Regions from separate parts of the Homo sapiens genome. Here all the other regions are linked to region 2. Evidence: promoter capture Hi-C in 16 types of primary human blood cells and fetal thymus (Javierre and others, 2016). All regions are on one chromosome and are shown on one strand. Each heading gives the region's core, a stretch centred on a gene start or on the middle of the fragment in contact. The rest is flanking DNA. Distances are from core to core; before and after follow the strand shown. Region 1 has its middle 39 kb from the start of HAND1. Region 2 holds the start of FAXDC2 (fatty acid hydroxylase domain containing 2). Region 3 overlaps HAND1 (heart and neural crest derivatives expressed 1).

What was found. Contacts are between HindIII fragments. The CHiCAGO score rates a contact against its expected background, and 5 or more counts as called.
Region 1: a contact is called between a fragment that was not itself captured here and the fragment with the promoter of FAXDC2 in region 2, in 1 of 17 cell types (monocytes). The highest score is 6.0, in monocytes.
Region 3: a contact is called between a fragment that was not itself captured here and the fragment with the promoter of FAXDC2 in region 2, in 5 of 17 cell types (activated CD4 T cells, naive CD8 T cells, total B cells and 2 more). The highest score is 8.2, in activated CD4 T cells.

The regions. Positions count from the first base shown.
Region 1 is chr5:154,515,151-154,519,124 of GRCh38, forward strand. No RefSeq gene overlaps it. Among named protein-coding and RNA genes, the nearest start is that of HAND1, 39 kb to the left of the region's middle. The HindIII fragment of the contact is 7,100 bases long and covers 1-3,974 here.
Region 2 is chr5:154,848,174-154,852,412 of GRCh38, forward strand. It overlaps FAXDC2 (fatty acid hydroxylase domain containing 2), which reads right to left and starts at 2,430. Exons shown (of 9, transcript NM_032385.5): 1 at 2,310-2,430. The HindIII fragment of the contact is 21,500 bases long and covers 1-4,239 here.
Region 3 is chr5:154,471,544-154,475,616 of GRCh38, forward strand. It overlaps HAND1 (heart and neural crest derivatives expressed 1), which reads right to left. Exons shown (of 2, transcript NM_004821.3): 2 at 3,429-4,073. Among named protein-coding and RNA genes, the nearest start is that of HAND1, 4.6 kb to the right of the region's middle. RefSeq lists enhancers at 890-1,861, 1,862-2,833. The HindIII fragment of the contact is 1,058 bases long and covers 1,767-2,824 here.

The DNA of each region.
Region 1 (3,974 bases), core at 63-2,562, 330 kb before region 2:
AGCCACCCATCCTTCCACCATCCAATAATTTTTCTTTTTTTTTTTTTGTATGTATTCTTTTCTTTTATTTCAATGTAACGTGCTTGCATGTGGCAAAATTTTCAGCGTAGGGGTTAGAAAGTGAACACCTCTCGGCTGGGTGCAGTGGCTCATGCCTGTAATCCCAGCACTCTGGAAGGCCCAGGCGGGTGGATCACGAGGTTGTGAGTTCGAGACCAGCCTGGCCAAGATGGTGAAACCCCGTCTCTACTAAAAACACAACAATTAGCCGGGCGTGGCGGTGGGCACCTGTAATCCCAGCTACTCAGGAGGCTGAGGCAGAGAATTGCTTGAACCTGGGAGGCAGAGGTTGCGGTGAGCCAAGATTACGCCACTGCACTCTAGCCTGGGTGACAGAGCAAGACTCTGTCACAGAAAAAAAAAAGAAAAGAAAAAAAAAAAGAAAGTGAATACCCCTCTTAGTCACAGCCTCTAGGTTAGTGATTTCTAAACAGGGTTTCAGGGAGAGCAGGGGTTCCCCTCAGAGAACATTTGGCAATGTCTGGAGACATTTCTGGTTGTCACAGCTGGGGTTGGAGAGTGTGCTACTACTGTCATCTAACGGATACCTGCCAGGGGTTTCACAATGTTGGCCAGGTTGGTCTCGAACTCCTGACCTCATGTGATCTGCCTACCTTGGCCTCCCGAAGTGCTGGGATTACAGGCGTTAGCCACCAATCCCAGCCACAAGTGTGTATATTTTAAAAACCCAAATAGGCTCCAACTGCAGTTTTCTTTATTCCTTTTTAAATTTTTTTTATTTTATTTTTGAGACAGAGTCTCATTCTCTCACCCAGGCCTGGAGTGCAATGGCACAATCTCGGCTCCCTGAAACCTCCGCATCCCAGGTTCAAGCGATCCTCCTACCTCAGCCTCCAGAGTAGCTGGGACTACAGGCGCCTGCCACCACACCTGGCCCTCTTTATTCCTTTAATAACACTGGCAGTGACATTTCAAACACTTAGGAGCTTGCTGCTAGAATCATATTGCCTAAATTTATTTATTTATTTATTTATTTATTTATTTATTGAGATGGTGTTTCGCTCTTGTCGCCCAGGCTGGAGTGCAGTGGTGCAATCTTGGCTCACTGCAACCACGGCCTCCTGGGTTCAAGTTATTCTCCTGCCTCAGCCTCCCATGTAGCTGGCATTACAGGTACCCACCACCATGCCTGGCTAATTTTTGTATTTTTAGTAGAGGTGGGGTTTCGCCATGTTGGCCAAGCTGTTCTCGAACTCCTGACTTCGGGTGATCCTCCTGCCTCAGCCTCCCAAAGTGCTGGGATTACAGGCGTGAGCCACCGCACCCGGCCAGGTTGCCTAAATTTAAATGCTGGTATCACCACTTACTAGATGTATGGCCTAATCCCTCCATACCTCCATGTCTTCATCTGCAGAGTGGGGATGATTATAGTACTTACCACATGGCATCACATGGGATTAGTTATTTATTATGTGCGTTCCTTTGTATCTGGCTGGAGGTGGCAGCAGATCACTGTGCTCACTGCAGAGATGAGGACACTGAGACTCAGAGTCAGGCAGTGACTTGACACAGCCTGTCCAGTAAGTCAGTGGCACTTGGTGCTAGCTCAGGGCTCTCTCCAGTGTAAGCAGCACTTCTGATAAAGGTATGTTTTTTTTGGCCCGGTGTGGTGGTTCATGCCTGTAGTCCCAGCACTTTGGGAGGCTGAGGCAGGAGGATCGCTTGAGCCCAGGAGTTTGAGACCAGCCTGGGCAACATGGCAAAATCCTGTCTCTACAAAAAATTTAAGAATTAGCCAGGCGTGGTAACCCATGCCTGTAGTCCTAGCTGGTCAGGAAGTTGCGGCAGGAGGGTTGCTTGAGCCAGGAAGGTTGAGACTGCAGTGAGCCATGATGGTGCCACTGCGCTCCAGCCCAGTTGACGGAGCGAAAGCCTGCCTCAAAAAAAAAGTATATTTTTTGCTTATTTGTTTGCTTTATTCTGTTTTGTTTTGGGGAAAGATCCAGAAGACAGCAGGCCATCAGCTCTGTGCTACAGGGTAGCAGAGAGTTCTGCGTCAGGCCTCAGGGCATCTTGGCAGACACCTCCCTGTCCCCAGTTCCCAGTCTCCCTCCCCACTGTGGCTCAGCCTGGCTCTCCACTAGGCCGGGAGCAGGCTCTGCCTTATCTCCAGACGCCTGTTATCTGCACACCCATCTGTGGACAAATGGCCAGCCGGCTGGCTCCTGGGCACCCCTGCCTAGAGGGGAGTCCGCCTCTCAGGCCTGTGTCTGGCAATTTGGGCTGGAGCCCAAGGTGGGGGGTCTCCCAATGGAGGAGGCCCCGCTCAGCCCTACCCCTGGGGCTTTAAGCCCTAAAATGATGCTGCTTAGACATTCCATTCATGGGACAGGAATCCGGGCCAGGAAAACCATCCCATCCCACCATCCTTCCCTCACTTCGTTTCACATCAGGCTCTGTAAGGTGGGTAAGGGCCGCAATTGTCATTCCCATTGAGCAAATGGAGAAACTGAAGCTAAGTGAGGAGCTGTGTTGTGTTGCAGGTCACAGAGCAAAACAGCAGCCTTTCAGGGACTAGAACCTAGGCCCCTTAGCTCCCATCCTAGCCTCCAAGAAGGAGAACTCGCAGACCTCATGCTCCAGGCCCCACCCTGCCATAGATGCCAGGGGCAGGGGCACAGTCATGTCCATTCTTTGGGCCTTAGTTTCTTCACCTCTCAAGCAGAGATAAAAGTGGGTGACAGGGAGGAGCCTGTCCTTAGCTCCAGAAGGCCAGGGAAGCAGCAGGCAGAGTCGGGCAGGGCGTGAAGCACGTGGGGCTCTGGGCTCACCCTGCTGGGGCTCAAGTCCCACTTTCCCCGCTTATCTCAGTGTGACTTTGAGCAATCACTTGACCTCCCTCTCTGTGCATTGGTTTCCCCATATGAAAAAAACAGGGGAAGAACAACACGAGTCAACCTCCATGAAGTGCATAGCACGTAATGAGTGCTCATAAGTGTGAGTTACTGTTGTTTTTGTTCGCAGGAGAATATGGCGTAGTAATTACAGTATTGGGGTTGACGAACTGGCTGTGCTGTGTGACCTTGGGCAACTGACTTAACATCTCTGAGCCTCTGTTTTCTCATCTGTAAAACAGGGGCAGTGTGTCTTTGAGGCTCTAGTGAGGGTCTTGGCACAGATTGTGGCCCCATTGGCTGGGGTGAAGCTGGGAGCTGCCAGTGACCTGCAGGGAGGGGTGCCTGCCTGAAAGATGGAGACAGCCTGCAGGCCTTTGTTTACAGAGCCCATCTCTCCTCTGATGGATGCGGCCAGCAGAAGTCTGTTTGCAAGTTTCTCCTGGAAACATGAATCAAGGTCTGTTTGGAGAACACGTGCGCTCCTCTGTCAAACATTCCACCCGTGCTGGGGCCACAGAGCCTTGAGAGCAGAGTGGGTCCCAGATTGTCCCCAGAGATAGGGGATAGGCCAGGATACCCAGCCCCTCCGGCCAGGCTTCAGAGGGGACAGCCTGGGCTCCGAGACAGATGCCCTCCCTGGCCTCAAGGAGCTCTCTAGAAAGCAAGATAAGACCCGGACTCGACCAGAAAACAGGGAGAGATAAGGACCCATCTGCTTCCACTCTTGTCCCCTCTGATCCTCCACAGCAGCCCTGAGTGATCTTTTTAAAATGTAAATTTCATGGCTCACTCCTGCTCACAACCCTCTGTGACTTCTTTAGTAGTTGAATCAAAATCTGATTCCAGGCCGGGCTTGGTGGCTCACACCTGTTTAATACCAGCACTTTTGGAGGCTGAGGTGAGCTGATCACTTGAGGTCAGGAGTTCGAGACCTGCCTGGCCAACATGGGGAAACTCTGTCTCCACTGAAAATATAAAAATTAGCCAGGCATGGTGACAAATGCCTGTAGTCCCAGCTACACGGGAGGCTGAGGCAGGAGAATCACTTGAACTCAT
Region 2 (4,239 bases), core at 1,180-3,679:
CACCTTTATGTGAATGTGTATTGTTTTGTAAACAACTTGTAAAATTGTTGAGACAATTTACTCTTAGAGGGGGGAGAAAAAAGACCTCATGTTCATCTGGTCTACCCCTTCCATTTTATAAGCTAAGGAGGAAGCCCTAGTTAGTAGAAATGACTTGCTCCAAACTCCACATGGTTTCTGGCAAAATCTAGGCTTCTTAACACTTTGCCTAGTGCTGTATGTATTTTGGGAATAGCATAACTTCTATTTCATAAGAAATGACACAGGGAGAGGGCAACTGACCCAAAGATTAGAACTCCCCTTACTTCAGCCTCTGCTCTCAGACTGTATGCTAGGAAAAAGCTGAGCAGTCGACCTCCAGGGCTGAGGAGACTGACCTGTAATGTAATTACACAGTTTAAAGCCTCTGGTGAAGAGGGTTTTGAGGAGCTGCTATGACTCAACATCTGTACTAATCTGAGGCTTATATAGAAGATAGAGTGGCCGATATTCATTTAAGAAGATGAAATGCGGCCAGGAGCGGTGGCTCGCATCTGTAATCCCAGCACTTTGGGAGGCCGAGGTGGGCAGATCACCTGAGGTCAGGAGTTTGAGACCAGCCTGGCCAACATGGCGAAACTCCGTCTCTACTAAAAATATAAAAATTAGCCGGGTGTGGTGGTGCACGCCTGTAATCCCAGCTGCTCTGGAGGCTGAGACAGGAGAATCGCTTGAACCTGGGAGGCGGAGGTTGCAGTGAGCCAAGATCATGCCACTGCACTCCAGCCTGGGCGCCAGAGCAAGAGTCTGTCTCAAAAAAACAAAAAAAAACAAAGATGAAATGCGGCTGGGCACGTTGGCTTATGCCTGTAATCTCATAACTTTGGGAGGCCGAGGTGGGTAGATCACCTGAGGTCAGGAGTTGGAGACCAGCCTGGCCAACATGGTGAAACCCCATCTCTACTAAAAATACGAAAATTAGCTGGGTGTGGTGGCGGGCACCTGTAATCCCAGCTACTTGGGGGGCTGAGGCAGGAGAATCTCTTGAACCCAGGAGGTGGAGGTTGCAGTGAGCTGAAATCGCGCCACTGTACTCCAGCCTGGGTGACAGAACGAGATTCCATCTCAAAAAACAAAAAAAACAAAAACAGAAGATGAAATGCATGAAAGGAAAGGTTAAAAATGATTCCCATGGGCCAGTTTTAGTAATACTCTCTTCACTCCTTTTGCTGCATGGTACTTGCACCCTTTGAGCTTACTGTTCTGCTTGATTGCATGTCCATGAGGCCGAGAATCTGCCTGTCTTGTTTACCACGAGATCCACAGAATCAAGCCCAAGCCTGGCATGTAGAAGATACTCAAGAAAGATTTGCCGAATAAATAAGAGATACACGAATCAAAAGCATTGCTTTTTGCCCTCAAAAAGTGTTCAACATTTGCTATGGAACATTTTAGCACCATTCCCTTGTGCTAATTACTTTCGTAACTAAAGTTAGAAGCTGATGCTCAGTGCATCTGTGTTTTAGCAAATTGAATTGAATCTGTATATCCCACTCAAAGAAATTTAATTGGAATTGCACATGAAACTGAAGCAACCCACAAATCAGCATCTTGTCTTGCTTGCCTTAAGCCCCAGAAGGTCCTGAAAGCCACTGTTCTATTGTTCATCTCCACCTACACACTTTACTGTATGCCCTTTACTCAATAACCTTCGTGGAGTGTTTCCATAGGTACTATCAAGCCACTAACGATTTCACAACTGGAGCCACTGTTGGTAAATCCAAGTATGTTGCATCAAAACAGTTTCAACCTACTTGTCTAGCTCATAGCCCACACATCTATCCAGAGACTTTAAAACTGTTGTATTTTGCCCCATACCTTCCTGGTGATGGCAGAGTAGAGATGAGAAGCAATTAGGCAGCAGTTGCTTCCCAACAGTCTCTTCCAGTTTGTTCTGCCTCTCATTTGAGTTCTGAATTAGGAGTTGCTCCTTTACAAATGGTTTTAAAGTCAAACAATTACTTGTCCATTACAATCACCTGTCAATTGCTAGAAAAATTAGACTACTGAGGAGGTAGATGGTACAAACACAGGCAGAGGATACAGACATTAGTAAGAGACAAGGAGGCGACTGCACTACAGCAATGTCCTAGGACAAATTCTAACCCTGCCATCTAACCCTGTTTAGAGGCAAATCTAACCCTGCCATAAGTAGAGAGGACAGGGTGGTGGCAGAGGTGGGAAGAGTGTTGTTTTGCCCTTACTTTAAGTGAACCTGGACATGTCCTGACCTTTGCAAACACCACCCCTCCCCCGTAGTTCCCACTTACCTCTGCAGTGGGCTGTGTCCAAGCTGCTGAGGTCCTTGCACAGGTCAAATCTAAGTTCTCTTCCCTTTCAGCCCCCGCTTTGGTGGCTGTTGCTGCTGCGGCTCTGCTGCAGGCTAACCTTGTTTTTGCTCGGGTGGGAGGCTGGCCATGGTGATCTCATTACAGAGCTGCGTACTGGCTCGGACCAGGCACGTGATGAAAAAAGTTTGGGTCTGTGTGGGCTGGAAACAAAACACCCTTCTTTCCAGAGGGCATGTCCTTAAAGCGGAAAGGGAATCTAAGCTCAAGCAGGAACTTGAAAAACGTGCATTTGGCCAAACTCTGGGCTTCCCTCCCCCTGCCCCCTTTTTTTCTTTTAAAAAATTTTCTCCATCATCTGCAACTTAAGAAAATGTCGCTGTCCCATAGGAGGAGGCAGATTCAAGAAAAGATGTGGGTGTCAGATAATGGCAGGTAGTACAAGTTGATAAAAAGGTGACAGAGACCAGAGGATCTCATTTTCTTTTTTTTCATTGCTTCTTTTCCTGTGGAGGGCAGGCAAGGGAGGAGAGATGCATCAGCTATTTCTAGTGAGTCTAGATGCAGGAAAGGCATGCCTGTGGAGGGTAAATTTGCACTGTGATTGAAATAGGGGAACTTAGGATACAGGACCCATGACATGAAGTGAGGAGCACTTTGGAAAAAGAGCTGCTTTTAAATTTCTGAAAACTTTTTAAATAAGCAAATGTGCAAATGATATAAAATACAATAGGGTCAAAAGAATGTACAATGAAAAGTCTTTTTTTAATTTCTCCTCAGTCCCCTTTTTTTCCTCCCAAGAGACAACCTCTGTGACCAGATTTTTGTATATCCTTCCAGAGCTTACCTCTGTAAATAGAAACATGTGTAGGCCTTGTGCTTCTCCTTTAGCAACAGCACCATAGTATGTTTGTTGTGCACCTTGCTTTTTCCACTTAACAATCAAACATGGAGATTGGCTAGGCATGGTGGTGCTCACCTGTAGTCCCAACTATTTGGGAGGCTGAGGTTGGAGGATCACTTGAGCCCAGGTATTTGAGACCAGCCTGGGCAGCACAGGAAGACTCCTTTCTAAAATAAACAAAACTCAGAAACTTGGCTGGGCACGGCGGCTCACATGTATAATCTCAGCACTTTGGAAGACCAAGACGGGAGGATCACTTGAGGCCAGGAGTTCAAGACCAGCCTGGGCAATGTAGCAAAACCCCATTTCTACTACATATACAAAAAATTAGTAGAGCTTACTGGCACATGTCTGTTATCCCAGCTACTGGGGAGGCTGAGGTGGGAGGATGGCTTGAGCCCAGGAGTTGGAGGCTGCAGTGAGCTATGATTGTGCCCTGCACTCCAACCTGAGTGACAGAGTGGGACCCTGTCTCTAAAAAACAAAACAAAATAAAAAATGCCGGGTGCAGTGGCTCATGCCTGTAATCTCAGCAATCTTTGGAAGGCTGAGGCAGGAGGATTTCTTTTTTTTATTTTTTGAGATGGAGTCTTGCTCTGTCACCCAGGCTGGAGTGCAATGGCATGATCACAGCTAACTGCAACCTCCGCCTCCTGGGTTCAAGCGATTCTTCTGCCTCAGCCTCCCGAGTAGCTGGGACTACAGGTGTGCGCTGCCAGGCCCGGCTAATTTTTGTATTTTTTTTTTTTAGTAGAGATGAGGTTTCACCATATTGGCCAGGCTGGTCTTAAACTCCTGACCTCATAATCTGCCCACCTCAGCCTCCCAAAGTGCTGGGATTACAGGCATGAGCCACCACCGTGCCTGGCCTGGCAGGAGAATTTCTTAAGCCCAGGAGTTAGAGACCAGCCTGGGCAACATAATGAGGCCCTGTCTCTAAAATAAATAAAACTGTCAACAACAAAACATGGAGACTGCTCCATATAGTACCCTTAAGAGCTGCCATGT
Region 3 (4,073 bases), core at 1,046-3,545, 380 kb before region 2:
TAACTCCTTCCTTCTTTTTTTCTCTACCTTACTTTGGGGACTAAGGAAGATCAGACTGAGAGAAACTGTATTTGGGCACATATGTATGTATACACACACACACACACACACACACACACACCTGGAGGTGCTCCGAGATGTGGGGGAAACAGGTCTCTGGAGGTAGCCATGTTTGCACTTTGATACAAGTCCTATCTGCCATCCATGTGACCTTGGACAAAATCCTTCACCTCTCTACGCCTCAGCTCCCTCAATATTGACCTCACGGAACCCTGTGAGGCTTATATGAAATAATGCATGCTGAGTTTAAATACTTTTCTTTATAAATGTTAGCTGTTACTATTCCATTCATCAATAGACTTTAAATGTAAGAAAAAAAGACTATTTGCTGTGTACGAGGAATAATAAACTCTTCAGGACAAATATTTTCTGTTGTATGTTAATTGATCGTTATTAGGATCTTTTCATTATATTTATGCCCACAGTGCCTAGCACATGGTGGGCACACAATAAATGTATGTTAAATAAATGGTGTATTGAAAGTATGCTGGCAACAGAGGAAATTGCAGCTTAATTTTTATTGCAAAAGTAATACTTATTCATTATAAGACATTTAAGAAAAATATGGCTAAGCAAGAGGAAAAGTCAAAATTACCCTTATTCCCACAAGTCAGAGGTAAAGGTGTGAAAGTTTTGATGTATATTCTTCCAATTTTTCTCCACGAATAATATTTTTTTATTTTTACATGAAAAGGGTCACAATGGACAGTGTTTGGTGTAATATGGGAGGAGGTTTTCTCACTTAATATATCGTGAACAATTTCCATGTCAATTCCCACATTTTTTCTAATGGCTGAATAGTAACCCACTTGTACTGATGGCTTTATTGAGCCAGTTCTGTAATTATAGGACATCAGGTTCTTTCTCGTGTTTCACTCTTTAATAGAATAGTCCTATAGTTAACGTTTTGTAACATCAATATTTCCTTGCAGTAAACTCCTGGAATTTACTTTTAAGTTGGTAACCATTCCATTTTTCCCATTTTTTAAAAAAGATGTATTTAATTCAAAAATAATAAATAATGACCCTGCTTCTGCCACAGCTGATTTGAGGTGTCTGACAAACCTCGTTGAAACCTGGGCAGAGAAGAAGAAACTAAACGTTAGACTCTAAAGATGTTTTCAAAGAAGGGAGGGCTAAGGAGGGGTGGGAGCCTGGAGAGCCAGGGTGGCAGCGAGAAGGGCTGGACCCCTAGTCTGCAGACCCTCAGCACAGAATGGTTTGTGAAACCTGGGGCAGCTCCGAGCCGTTCTCTGTGCTCGGCTTTTCCAGCTGTGCGGTGGGAGCTGGGGATGTGGCGTGGGCGTGGGAGGCCGCTGGAGTCAGGCGTGGGGAGAGTGGGGGACTATCCAGTGACCCTCTCAATGGGCGCCGGCTCCGTCTCGGCTCCCGGGTTCAGGGACTGCACGTTTCTGAGACCGAGTTTAGGGCTCCAAGGCTCTCTTCCCAAAGAGGGTTTGGGGCCAGCAGGATTGGGTTTTCTGAAGAGGCCTGGTTATGCCAGACTTGGCTTTGGCGGCCGCTGGCGGGTCTCCCTCAGCACCCCCTCTTCTTTCCCCGGCTATAAGAAAGCTAGACCAGGGTGCGCATTCTTCCCGTGCCTAGGATACTTCACGGTGCTAAAAATAGTCCTGGGAGCTGGGACCTGTGTATAGCCAGAGGTTTGTGTGTGAGCGAAGTTGGAGTCCTGGGTTCGAATCTAGATAAGCTTCCCTCCGTGCTGTGGGGCTTAGATCACCTCCCTCCCTGAGTCTGTTTCTCCATGCGCGCCGGAATTTCTAAACGGACTCCCAGAAAGAAACGGAAAGAAAGAAGGTAAAGAAAAGAAAAACAAAACAACAAGAAAGAAACTTTGATTTTTCTCTCTGCTCCTCCCCAAGGGCCCTGGGGCCTCGGGCCGGGTACTGAGGCCGAGGAAGGGGTGCGTCGGACAGGCTCATTACCGCCAAGTGTTGCCCTAGTTAAATCGCGGGCCTGTTTGATCTGGCGGCGGGTGGCGAGAGGGAAAAAAGAAAAAAGTAGGGGGGCGAGAGTAGAGAGAGAAGCTCACACCTCCCCCACTGTTTCCTAGCGCCCATAAAACACCTTTTATTAACTCCTTCGCGTCCGGAAAGGCCCGCGTGGCCTCTCGGCCCCTGCTACGGTGTTTACAGCCAAGACTAATGGGGTCCCATATTCACCCCGACGCTGGGACAAGGCGCCTGGGGCACGCCTGGTGCCCCACGAGGCCCTGCCCCGGAGCTGCCTGAGGTCTCCTTTCTTGTTCCCAAGCCGAGCGCTCAGGCTCCAGGTGCGCAGAGCGAAAGTTCCAAGACAGCCTCACGGGTCTCCCCTCCTCCTTCGCAGTGAGCGCCGCAGACCCTCAGGCGCTGCAGAGCGTGCGCTCCGTGGGGCAACCATGGGAGCTGTTGGGAGACACAGAAGTGCTTAGCGCAGTGCCTAGCACACAGTTGCACGCAACCAAAGTATTCGTACATTATTATTCCTGGAAGTATAAACCACTGCGTTTGCCCGCCCCAGTTTAGCCCAATACGCATCCAAGATCCTTGGCAAATGCACCGAATTTATACCCACCACACCTAGTCATGGGTGCGCATGAGAGAACACAAAGACTGGCTCTCCTGCACAAGTGCCCGAATGAGCACGCATACACACATACACCCCATCCCTTTGCACAAATCCATATGCTCTCACAACCTTCTGTCGAGTGCTTCGTTGCTAAAGAGAAACCTAAATACCTCAATTTAACATATAAGCACTCACAAGCTTATTTTACTCAGGTATAAAATAATAATAGCTGCTGTGACTTGTCAAGTCCTTACTGTGTGCTTGGAGCTGTACTAAGCAGACCCTTGTTGGCCCCTGCACAGCCTCAGGCTCCGTATGAGTTGCTGCACTGTCACATGTACATCTATATGTTGAGAATTTCACATACATGAACATATTCCCCACCAACACCCCCTCTCCTGAGCTACCCTGCCCCAGGGATAGGATTCACCTGTGTGCTAGGCCCCCTTCCCTCCCAATAAACACTCCAAACCACTCTTTGCAGACACCAGTGGGCATACTAACCTCCAGACAAGCACGAATACTCAACGCACAAAAACCCGAGCCCAGGCCCTCTGAGACTAATTCGTTTCCGTTTTTGTTCTTCCCCGTTCCCATAAGTTACCCCCACCTCCCGTTCTAGTCTAAAGAGAACTTTGCTCTTGTTCTTGAAATACATTCTTTATCTGCCGGCTTCCCTTGATTTCAAGTTTGGTTTCGTGTTTATCAAAAGAAGAGGAGCAGGAACAGAGGCTTTCCACCTAGCAGAAGCCATGGGAGTCGGTGAGGGACCCCGGTTGAGACATGACACAGGCTTCAGATGATTTCAGAAAATGTTTTATTAATCAAGAGCATAGACACTGCTTTGGCGAAGGGAGGGGGGCTGTGAGTGGTCACACAGACTTGAGGTAGAAAAGGGTTGGGGATGGCAGGATGAACAAACACCTGAGCACAACAGGCATGGTAGGTAGTTTAAATACATAAAAACTTTCCAACACAGGGAAAGCTTTTATTTAGATAGAAACAAAAAGGAAGGAAAAGAAGGAAGAAAAGAGAGAGACAGAGAAAGAGAGAAAGTGTTTCCCTTGGAACTAAACAGGAAGTGCAGCGACAAAAAGAAAAATAAAATAAAACCACCACGATTCGAAGAACAAAGGGCAGCCTTTCATCTTCCTGCGTCTGGTTCTCTTTCTCAGGCAGAAAAGAATTGATTCCTTATTGCATTTTAATTAGAGAAGACGGCGTCGGGGCGGATCATATGGAGGGACAAGAGAGAAAGAGCCAGATAGGGAAATGGAGATAGGGCTGAGGTTCTAAATTCGCTCCAAAAGGGTGGAAGAGTGCGTCTTTGAGCCCTTGGGTTCGACAGTCCCTCCTTCTTGCATGTTGCCGCCAAGGGCCGCCCTCGGTTGGGCTGGGGGTGGATATATATATATTTCTCTTTCTCTTAATGTATTAAAAAAAAT